4 separate regions of the Homo sapiens genome follow, and regions 1, 2 and 3 are each linked to region 4. Evidence: promoter capture Hi-C in human tissues and cell types (Jung and others, 2019). All regions are on one chromosome and are shown on one strand. Each heading gives the region's core, a stretch centred on a gene start or on the middle of the fragment in contact. The rest is flanking DNA. Distances are from core to core; before and after follow the strand shown.

The links. Contacts are between HindIII fragments. The study calls those that stand out against the background at their distance.
Region 1: a contact is called between a fragment that was not itself captured here and the fragment with the promoter of PPIB in region 4, in 2 of the 25 tissues and cell types used here (lymphoblastoid cells and mesenchymal stem cells).
Region 2: a contact is called between a fragment that was not itself captured here and the fragment with the promoter of PPIB in region 4, in 2 of the 25 tissues and cell types used here (aorta and mesenchymal stem cells).
Region 3: a fragment that was not itself captured here is called in contact with the fragment with the promoter of PPIB in region 4 in 2 of the 25 tissues and cell types used here (mesenchymal stem cells and mesendoderm cells).

Annotation. Positions count from the first base shown.
Region 1 is chr15:64,297,553-64,300,252 of GRCh38, forward strand. The region is part of intron 2 of CSNK1G1 (casein kinase 1 gamma 1); the gene reads right to left. Among named protein-coding and RNA genes, the nearest start is that of CSNK1G1, 57 kb to the right of the region's middle. The HindIII fragment of the contact is 7,582 bases long and covers 1-2,700 here.
Region 2 is chr15:64,415,690-64,418,389 of GRCh38, forward strand. The region is part of intron 8 of TRIP4 (thyroid hormone receptor interactor 4); the gene reads left to right. Among named protein-coding and RNA genes, the nearest start is that of TRIP4, 29 kb to the left of the region's middle. The HindIII fragment of the contact is 9,009 bases long and covers 1-2,700 here.
Region 3 is chr15:64,332,649-64,335,348 of GRCh38, forward strand. The region is part of intron 1 of CSNK1G1 (casein kinase 1 gamma 1); the gene reads right to left. Among named protein-coding and RNA genes, the nearest start is that of CSNK1G1, 22 kb to the right of the region's middle. The HindIII fragment of the contact is 3,112 bases long and covers 1-2,700 here.
Region 4 is chr15:64,161,650-64,164,349 of GRCh38, forward strand. PPIB (peptidylprolyl isomerase B) reads right to left here and starts at 1,373. Exons shown (of 5, transcript NM_000942.5): 1 at 1,203-1,373; 2 at 392-505. The coding sequence starts at 1,337. RefSeq lists enhancers at 1-496, 730-1,230, 1,038-1,287, 1,231-1,731, 1,838-1,887 and a silencer at 1,338-1,697. The HindIII fragment of the contact is 5,042 bases long and covers 274-2,700 here.

The sequences.
Region 1 (2,700 bases), core at 130-2,629, 140 kb after region 4:
AAAAATTAGCTGGGCGTGTTCTTATGCACTAGCTATTAAGGAGGCTGAAGTAGGAGGATCGCTTGAGCCTGGGAGTTGGAGGCTGCGTGAGCTATGATCATGCCACTGCACTCCAGGGCGGGTAACAGAGCAAGACCCTGTCTCTCAAAAAAAAAAAAAGAATAAGAAGAAATGCACTTGGCTGTTTGACAGACTGTGTGTCTAGGAAAGGAAATTAGTTTAGAGAAGCAGAGCTTTGTAGGTGGTAGCCATGATGTAGGCTGACTGCACCTGCCTTGACTTTGGAATTTTGTAGTTTACAATCTTCTCCTCGCTAATATTAGAACAAGAAAATGACGGAATGGGGTATGCAGCCCACTCTATTGTCAGGAAGATGCCAGATAATTCTGAAAGTATCTTTTCTAGATACAAGGCCATAACAGTATGGTCCCAGGGCTAATGAAAACTTGATAAGCAGAGAAGAGTAAAAGCACATGAAAAGAAAGACAAGTTCTTCTGACTACAGGCAAGTCCAAATGAGAAACATCAAAATTATCTCAGATTCAAAGAGGAAACAAAACACAATACTACTCTGAAAATATATATGGGCTATAAATGTATGCTTTTAACTGAATGAATTTTTCCCTTCCCACGTAAACTTATAATACAAATCTAGACTTCAGTGATTAAACAGATTTCCACTTTTAATTCACCAAGGTTTTTCTTCACTTTCACAGAAATGAAACAATTGTCTGATGTTTTGAGAATTCAAAGATTTAGATGCTTTAGAAACTGCCTCTTAGCAATCATTTTATGGATGTTTATGTCATAATTATTTAATCCATCCAAGTAGTACTGTGATGTTACAGTCAATTTATGACATAAAGAAATATTCACAGAACTATTCGTTAAAGCAACTCTGTGATTGCTAGAAAGTAAAGCAGTAATTACACATCTTACTCGTATTGTAAGTAGCATCTGCTGGCTTTGGTAACCCGAACACAATTCTAAATATAAAGATCCTTTCATTATCCTAATTAAGTCCTGAATTTCCAGGTTGTCAGCCTTCTAACAGTAAAAATAAATCCATTCTCATCATTCTTAAATTCAAATGGTCTCTGGCTAGTATAGTGATGTTTCTCCAAGGCTCTCTATGGGGGATCAGAGATAAGATTTTGTCCATGTTCTCTATGCAGGACCATCACAAGTAGCAGAGGTGGTCAGGCGTAGTGGCTCAGCCTGTAATCCCAGCACTTTGGGAGGCCGAGGCGGGTGGATCACTTGAGGCCAGGAGGTCAAGACCAGCCTGGCCAATATGGCAAGAGCCCGTCTCCACAAAAATACAAAAAAAAAAAAAATAAGCTGGGCATGGTGGCACATGCCTGTAAGTCCCAGCTACTCTGGAGGATGAGGCACAAGAATCACTTGAACCTGGGAAGAGGAGGTTGCAGTGAGCTGAGATCGCACCACTGCACTCCAGCCTGGGTGACAGAGCAACACTCCATCTCAAAAAGAAAAAGAAGTAGCAGAGGTAACAAACATAATTACATTATGTTCCCACCCTCCCACCACTCCCCCCAAAGGGCCAAAGTTTCTTACAATGAGTCTTCACATTAATCCACAGTCTCAAGAGCTATGAAGGAAAAGAAAACACTTTAGCCTAAAAGATGACCTTTCCACATTCTCCAGGCTAATTTCCAACTTCATATATTTATACGGCCTTTTATTTTCTCTATCCCACTCATCAAGGGAGAGCCATTAAAAAGTATATAAATGGCCGGGCGCGGTGGCTCACGCCTGTAATCCCAGCACTTTGGGAGGCCGAGGCGGGCGGATCACGAAGTCAGAGGATCAAGACCATCCTGGCTAACATGGTGAAACCCTGTCTCTACTAAAAATACAAAAACAAAATTAGCCGGGCGTGGTGGCGGATGCCTGTAGTCCCAGCTACTTGGGAGGTTGAGGCAGGAGAATGGCATGAACCCGGGAGGCAGAGCTTGCAGTGAGCCGAGATCGCGCCACTGCACTCCAGCCTGGGCGACAGAGTAAGACTCCATCTCAAAAAAAAAAAAATTTTATATATATATATAAATACCCAATGTACCTTCTTCCCAATCTCACATTTTTAGACAGATTAATTTTGTCATTATTTTCCATCTCACCCATAAATTCATAATTGAAATAGAAAATCCATTGCCTTAGTTGGGAAATAAAATTGCCTAACTTCTCCTTGGAGTTCTAACTTAATTCTAATGCTGGAAACTCCAGGAAGAAACGCAAACAAATTATCTTTTGGAAAATTTCTCCAAACAGGATGTACTGTATATCCTTGCAGACTAAGCCTGGGTATTACTGAGTAAGGATTTACTCTTTTCTTTTCAGGGGCAGAGTCTGAATTAAACCAAGGCCTTATGTCCTTCTTAAAAGACCAACAGCATCTGCATCACCTGGAATTTGTAAAAATATGCAGAATTTGGGGCTCCACCTCAGACATCCTAAATCAGAGTCTGCATTTTACTGATATCTGTATGCAACTCTATGTTCATCAGAAAATCTCAGAACTGGTAGAAAACTTAAAAGCCCATCGCACACACATAAAGAGAGATGAGCCTTGGATAACAAATAATTGATAATGACTATAGTGCCCCTTCACAAATTATTTCTTAACAACAGGTTCTCCTTAAGAAAAATTTCTTGTAAAACTATAAACGGCTTGTCTTG
Region 2 (2,700 bases), core at 77-2,576, 250 kb after region 4:
CTTAAACTGATTACACCTGTAAAGATTATTTCCAAATAAGGTTGTATTCACAGATTCCATGAACGTGGACATTGATTTTGGGGGGATACTACTCAACCCAGTACAGTAAGCAACACCTGATCATGAAAGATTTTTTGTCTTATGCTAATGAGTTTAGGTTTTGCCCTAAAGTAGGCAAAGAAGGGTTCTGGAAGAATTTTAACAGAAGATTGGCATGGCTTCCATGCCTACGTAGAGAATGGATTGGAGGGAAGAGTAAGTAAGATTAGAAGCTGAGAAATTGCCAAGGTAGTCATTGCAATAGCACCATGGAAAGATGATGCCAGCCCAAATTAGTATTAAAGCACTAGTGGAGCAGTAGAGAGTTATTTAAAGACCAAAAGTGGGAGCCGGGCCTGAGATGTAGTGATACACATCTATAGTCCCAGATACTTGGGAAGCTGAGGTGGGAGGATCACTTGAGACCAGGAGTTGGAGGCTGCAGTGAGCTATGATTAAGCCACCACACTCCAGCCTGGATGACACAGTGAGACCCCATCTCTAAAAAAAAATAATTATCATCATAAAGACTAAAAATGTAGATGAAGAGACCTGCTGGCAGATTCTTTAATAGTATTATCAAAAGATAATGAGGAATTAATTTAGGAAAGTGGCTGTGTAATTAGAGGGAACAGCTGTAGTAGAAATAGAAAAAATAATTTGGGCCTCAAGATTGTTCACATACCAACATTTTATGAAATTATTTATTTCCAGCCAGGTGTGGTGGCTCACGTCTGTAATCCTAGCATTTTGGGAGGCTGAGGAAGGAGGATCACTTGAAGCCAGGAGGTCAAGACCAGCCTGGGCAACAGAGCAAGACAGTGTCTCAAAAAAAATTTTTTTTAAAGAAATTATTTATTTACCCTATAATGGATCAATTCTTTTTCCTCTTTGGTCCTCTGTAAAAACTTCTATCTCCTATTTAGTATGTAGTCAATTCTGCCTTATGTTTTGAATAGTTATTTATGTGTCTGTCTTCCACTAGGCTTTAAGTTCCTTGCAAGCAAGAACCGTATCTTTTTCATATTTTATGTCTCCCTAGTTAATGTGCTTTTCACAGTTAAGTACTCAATAAATGTGTATTTAATTTGTAAAAATGTGTATTTTTAAGATATGCCACAATTGACAAGAATCATAAAATTGTATGGCAGAAAGATCCTTAGAAATTTATTTAGTCCAACTTCATCCTTTTCCAGTTTGAAAAACTGAAATCTTTAGGGGTTAAATGCCTAGGGTTTCGACTACCACTAGAAGTTTTTTCCTATAAGTTATTTTATGTTCATTTTTATTTATTTTTGAGACAGGATATTGTTCTGTCATCCAGGCTAGAGTGCAGTGGTATGATCATAGCTCACTGCAGCCTCCACCTCCCAGGCTCGAGAGATCCTCCCATCTCAGCTTCTCAAGTGGCTCAGACTACAGTAGCCACGTGCCATCATACCTTACTAATTTGTATATTTTTTTGTAGAGAAGGAGTTTCGCCTTGTTGCCCAGGTTGGTCTTAAACTTCTGGGCTCAAGCGATCCTCCTGCCTTGGCCTCCTTAAGTGCTGGGATTACAGACATCGGCCATCATGCCTGGCCCTTATTATTATTTTTAAAGACACAGGACCTCACCATGTTGCCCAGGCTGGCCTTGAACTTATGGGCTCAAGTGATCCTCCTGCCTCACCTCCTGAGTAACTAGTGAAGCTACAGGCATGCTTCACTGTGTTCAGCTTTATAAATTATTAATTTTTTAAAAAAGATAACCCCAAATATCATCATGCTAATTGCCTTTATTTTTAAATTTTAATTTTGGAGGACATGGTATCGTTGCTCTGGAAGAAACATTAACCTTTGCCATTCTCTGTCTGAACTGTTGCCAAGACTCTTCACTCTCCTGTAATTACCTGTACCTTATAATTCTCTATTCTTTTTATATGATGGGAGCCCTGTTTTAGTAGTCCTCCACCCTCTCTTTCAGGAGACAAGTTCTTCATTTCAGGGTAAGAGAATATTTCATGCATCCAGTAGTCAGAACTGCTGCCTCTGACCTGACAACATCTGTTTGGCTTTGTCATGGTGCCAGCATGTGACACTGCCCCTAAGCACATGCAGAATTGTGGACCAAAATGTTGAACTTTCATTTAGCTCACAGAATTCTATTGAAAAATTATCCAGAACCAAGTATGGATCATTAAGTATAAATTGGAAATAATTATAGCTCTTTTGGTGTGATATTTGTGCTGTTGCTGGAATTAGTAAGCATTGTATGGAGATTTCAACATTCTAATTATTCTTTAAGATGGGCCTTGTTATCATACCTGAGACTTCTACTGAATGTATACTATCTCTACCCTTTTGGCCTTATTGCAGACAAAGATGGGATTATTTTTCATTTGTTGTTGTTGTTGTTGTTGTTCTGAGACAGAGTCTCTCTTGCCCAGGCTGGAGTGCAGTGGCACAATCTTGGCTCATTGCAACCTCCACCTCCTGGGTTCAAATGATTCTCCTGCCTCTGCCTCATGAGTAGCTGGGATTATAGGCACCTGCCACCACGCCCAGCTAATTTTTGTAGTTTTAGTAGAGATGGGGTTTCACCATGTTAGCCAGACTGGCCTAGAACTCCTGACCTCAAGTGATCCACCCGCCTTGGCCTCTCAAAGTGCTGGGATTACAG
Region 3 (2,700 bases), core at 201-2,700, 170 kb after region 4:
ATGTACCCTAAAACTTAAAGTATAATTAAAAATAAAATAAAATAAAATAAAAAAACCCAAATCACAAAACAATTTAAAAAAAAACAAAAACAAAAAAAAAGTAGTTGAAAAATAATTTAAAATTTTTCTTGCTCATATAAGCAAAATATCTTACTTTTATGTTTAAAGTTACATAAAATTTTTTAAAAGAATTTTTAGCCCACAAGATAAATGAGATTATGTAAAATGTTCAAACCTAAGAATCACTGGTGTTCCTGAGAGAAAAGAAAAACCAGAAAGTTTGGAAAACTGATTTGAGGGAATAATTGAAGAAAATTTCCCTGACTAGCTGGGAGCAGTGGCCCATGCCTGTAATCCCAGCACTTTGGGAGGCCAAGGTAGATGGATCACCTGAGGTTAGGAGTTCAAGACCAGCCTAGCCAACATGGTGAAATCCTGTCTCTACTAAAAATACAAAACTTAGCCAGGTATGGTGGCGGGCACCTGTAATGCCAGCTACTCGGGAGGCTGAGACAGGTGAATCACTTGAACCCAGGAGGCCAAGGTTGCAGTCAGCCCAGATTGCGCCATTGCACTCCAGACTGAGCAACAAGAGTGAGACTCCATCTCAAAAAAAAAAAAAAAAAAAAAAAAAGGAATGCTAAAAGGAGGTCTAAATCTTGAAACAATGGCTGGGCACAGTGGCTCATGCCTGTAATCCCAGCACTTTGGGAGGCTGAGGTGGGAGGATTACTTGAATCCAGGAGTTCAAGACCAGCCTGGGCAACACAGTGAGACACCATCTCAAAAAAAAAAAAAAAAAAAAAAAAAAGGTCAATATGTACCAGAATAGAAGCTCCTGAAAGCACAAAACTCACAAGGTCTATAAAATAACATAATGAGGACAACAAAGTGTCTAGGTAACAATCAACATGATGACTAAAGCAGTACCTCACATCTCAGTATTAATGCTGAATGTAAATGGTCTTAAATGCGCCACTTAAAAGGTACAAATTGGCAAAATGGATAAAAAATTGGAAACCAAGTATTTGCTGTCTTCAAGAGGCTCACCTAACACCTAAGGATTCCTACATGCAAACGGAAACCAAAAGCAAGAAGTAATAGCTGTTCTTACATCAGATAAAACAGACTTTAAAGAAACAACAGTTTAAAAAGACAAAGTCATTATACAATGATAAAAGGATCAATTTAACAAGATTTTACAATCTTAAACATATATGTACCTAATTCTGGAGCATCTAGATTCATAGAACAATTACTACTAGACCTAAGAAAAGACAGAGACAGCAACACAATAATAATGGGGGACTTCAACACTCCACTGATAGCCCTAGATAGATAGATCTTCGAGCACTAGATAGATCTTAGAGACACAAAGTCAACAAAGAAACACTGGATTTAAACTGCACTTGAGAACAAATGGACCTAACAGATATTTACTGAACATTCTACCCAAGAACTGCAAGATATACAGTCTTCTCATTACCACATGAATCATTCATTACAGGCATGCACTGACCACCACGCCCAGCTAATTTTTTTGTATTTCAGTAGAGATGGTGTTTCACCATGTTGGCCAGGCTGGTCTTGAACTCCTGACCTTAAGTGATATGCCTGCCTCAGCCTGCCAAAGTGCTGGGATTACAGGAGTGAGCCACCGTGCCCAGCCTAAAATCTTTTATCTCAGCAGTCCTCAACCTTTTTGGCACAAGGACCAGTTTTACAGAAGACAATTTTTCCACAGACTGGGGGTGGAGGGCAGGGGGGAATGGTTTAGGGATGATTCAAGCACACTACATTTATTATGCACTTAATTTCCATTATTATTACATTGTACTATGCAATGAAATAATTATTCAACTCACCATAATGTAGAATCAGTGGGAGCCCTGAGCTTGTTTTCCTGCAACTGGATGGTCCTTTCTGCAAGTGATGGGAGACTCTGGCCAATCATCAGGCATTAGATTCTCATAAGGAGTGCATAACCTACATCCCTCTCACGTGCAGTTCACAACAGGGTTCACGCTCCTATGAGAATCTAATGCTGCCATTGATCTGACAGGAGGTGGCGCTCGGGCAGTAATGCAAGTGATGGGGAGTGGCTTTAAATACAGATGAAGCTTCACGCACTCACCTGCCACTCACCTGCCACTCACTTCCTGCTATGCAGCACGGTTCCTAAAGGGCCATGGACCACTACTGGTCTGTGGCCCAGAGCTTCAGGACCCCTGTTTTATCTAACAGATGACAGCAGTTAAACTTACCTTCACCAAAAAGTGTACTTCTATAACTACCTAATTTAGAGTAAGCTTAGAGACCACAATATTATTTCCATTTTTGGTTTCCCTAATAACTCCAGAAGAGTTACTACAAAGATTCAGATTATTGACTTATTTTGCAAGTACTGCTCAGTTCACATAATCTACAAAGAAAATGAGAATCTGCTGCAAATCTATCTGTCATTTCAGAACACATCCTGTGTGAGAAGGGTAGCCTAATACATGCTTTTAGGAAAAACATATTTCAATACCTGATAAAGAGTTTTGTCTACCTCACTAAAAATTTTTTTAAGCAAAGCTAGGCTAAAACAATAAAAACATAACCTTATCTGAGAAGATGGCTTTCCTTCCCTACTCAAGGAAAATAAATAATAAAACAATCAAGATGAAGCCAGTATTGAGGAGCCACAGACACTTCTTA
Region 4 (2,700 bases), core at 123-2,622:
GGGAGGCGGAGGTTGCAGTGAGCTGAGGCCGCACCACTGCACTCCAGCCCAGGCGACAAGAGTGAAACTCCGTCTCAAAAAAAAAAAAAAATTTGCGGGGGTAGAGACAGGGTCTTGCTATGTTGCTCAGGTTGGCCTTGAACTCCTGGGCTCAAGCAATCCTCCTACTTTGGCCTCCAAAAGTGCTGGGATTTTAAGTGTGAGCCACTGTGCCTGGTCAGGGCCCCATTACTCTTAAGAAAGGGCAATACTGTGTTCCCAGGGCAACAGGCAGTCGGTGCTCAGTGAGGTCCACGCTACAGATCGGCTGAACTCTGCAGGTCAGTTTGCTGCCATCCCCAGTGCCAATTTCACTTCATGTGAGTTGACTACCCCTGCTCCAGCCACTTACCTCTCCTGTAGCTAAGGCCACAAAATTATCCACTGTTTTTGGAACAGTCTTTCCGAAGAGACCAAAGATCACCCGGCCTACATCTTCATCTCCAATTCGTAGGTCAAAATACACCTGAGGAAAGAGACCATTTCCAACTTAGCTTCTTTAAAGGGGCGTTGCTAGGGGAGGGAAGGTACAAGAAGCTAACCTGAGGATGGGAGAGAGAATAGAGCCATATTTTTAGAGAAGTGGTTCTGAATCTGATTTTGGTGACGGTAAAAATCCTATGAGAATCTAATGAAAGCTCCAGACCCTTTTCTTGGAAAACATGCTTATCTATACCCTCCTTGGACTACAGGATAACAATATTTGCTCTAAACAGCTAATGGACCCAGATTCTAAAAATTAACATTAGAAAACCCATAAGGAGCGGAGCCTAAGTTCACCACTTAAGTTTGAAGTATACATACTGTGCTTTGTAATTGGAAGTGGCTAAAATTTGGCTTAAGGAGAGAAAGGATTCGGAATCCGGCAGGCGTGATCTTTCACCATCTCCCCAGCACTGAGGGGTGTTTGCAAAAAGCCTGCTCTGAGACTGCCAGTGTCGGCCCCAGATGGGTATCCGGGGATCCAACTAACTCCCTGGGTCAGGGCAGGGGCTGGGGGTGTCGGGGTGGGTCCGGGTCGTTCCCTGGACTGAATGGGCAGGACGGCCCAGACGCCACGAGGCCACAGACAGAAGCCGAGGGAGGAGGGGCTGAGCCAAGGCCAAGCCAAGGCCGCCCGGGCCCGAGCTCCGGCACCGTAAATGCCGCGGACTCCACCGGACCTTGACGGTGACTTTGGGCCCCTTCTTCTTCTCATCGGCCGCAGAAGGTCCCGGCAGCAGCAGGAAGAAGACGGACCCCGCGATGAGGGCGGCGGCAAGGAGCACCTTCATGTTGCGTTCGGAGAGGCGCAGCATCCACAGGCGGAGGCGAAAGCAGCCCGGACAGCTGAGGCCGGAAGAGGGTGGGGCCGCGGTGGCTAGGGAGCCGGCGCCGCCACGCGCGGGTGGGGGGGACTGGGGTTGCTCGCGGGCTCCGGGCGGGCGGCGGGCGCCGTTTCCCCCCTCCGGCTCGGCGCCGGATAGTAGGTCCCCCTGCGGGGCGGGCACCGACGCGGGCTCGTGGGTGGTTGCCACGTTATTGCTCCCTCATTGGGCTCCCGGCCGCCCTCTCCCGCCCACAGGAAGGCCACCGGCGGAAGGCGGCCTCGCAGAGCACGGGCCCGGGCTCCGAGAAGACCACAAGCCCCGGCATGCTCCGCGGCCCGCCCCGCCCGGAGCGCTGTTCCACTGGCCTGCGGTAGCTGGCGCTTGAGGTTAGCAAATACGTGGGCCTGGACAAGGGGCACGGGAAGCTTGTCACTGTTTTGGGCCAGTCAAGTGTTTGTCACCGCCAAATTGGCTCTAAACGTTGTGGCTTCCAAACACTTCAGGGACATTTATCCTTACCGAGCGTGGCCTTGTACGGCTCCTCCACTTGTCTTGCAAAACTTGCTGCACAACCCACTTCCTTTTTTACTGAGGCCGTCAAGTTACTACCCATTTTTCTCTCCCTTCTGTAATCTTGCTGTGCTTACTGTTGTGTATATCAATGGACATCTTATTGTATACGCTGTTCTTAACTTCCTTTACCTTTTCCCCCAATAGACTACATTTTTTTTTTTTTCTGCGGAAGGGACTGTGTTGCATTTACTCTGTCCACAGCTCCCTCACAGCGCGGCAGTACTGAGTGCCCAACAAGTCCTGGTTGGGATAGCTTCACATCCGCACTGACATGAGAAATAATTTATGCCACGGCCTGAGGATACAATGCCTTTTTCCGGAGGTCAGGAATAGTTACTAGATGTCCCCACAGGGCTATTTTAGGTCTTCACACACTTAGTGTTGTCCCAATCTACAACATAGATACTTTGGTACTGGGAGTCTTACACACCAAAACAAACCAAAACACAAACTTCCAAAATTTGGACCTATGGCGTTAAAACGTCTTTAAAACTAATTTTCAACGATTAACTTCGTAGAAATTCCAGGTCGTCACAGCACAGATTATAGGCAGGGCTCCATTTACATAAATTATGCAATGTAGTCTTCATGAGGCGCTGACCTGAGACTGAAGTTATGCAAGGCCACTGGCATTAACTTTGTTGTTCATTACAGCGGCCTTACACAGGTTGTAGAGCTTCAAGACAGTTCTCTTATTTCCCATCCTTGCACCTCAATTCAGACAACCCCAATCAGGAGGAAGTTTTAAACATTGTTATACTGACAAAGATGATCTTCC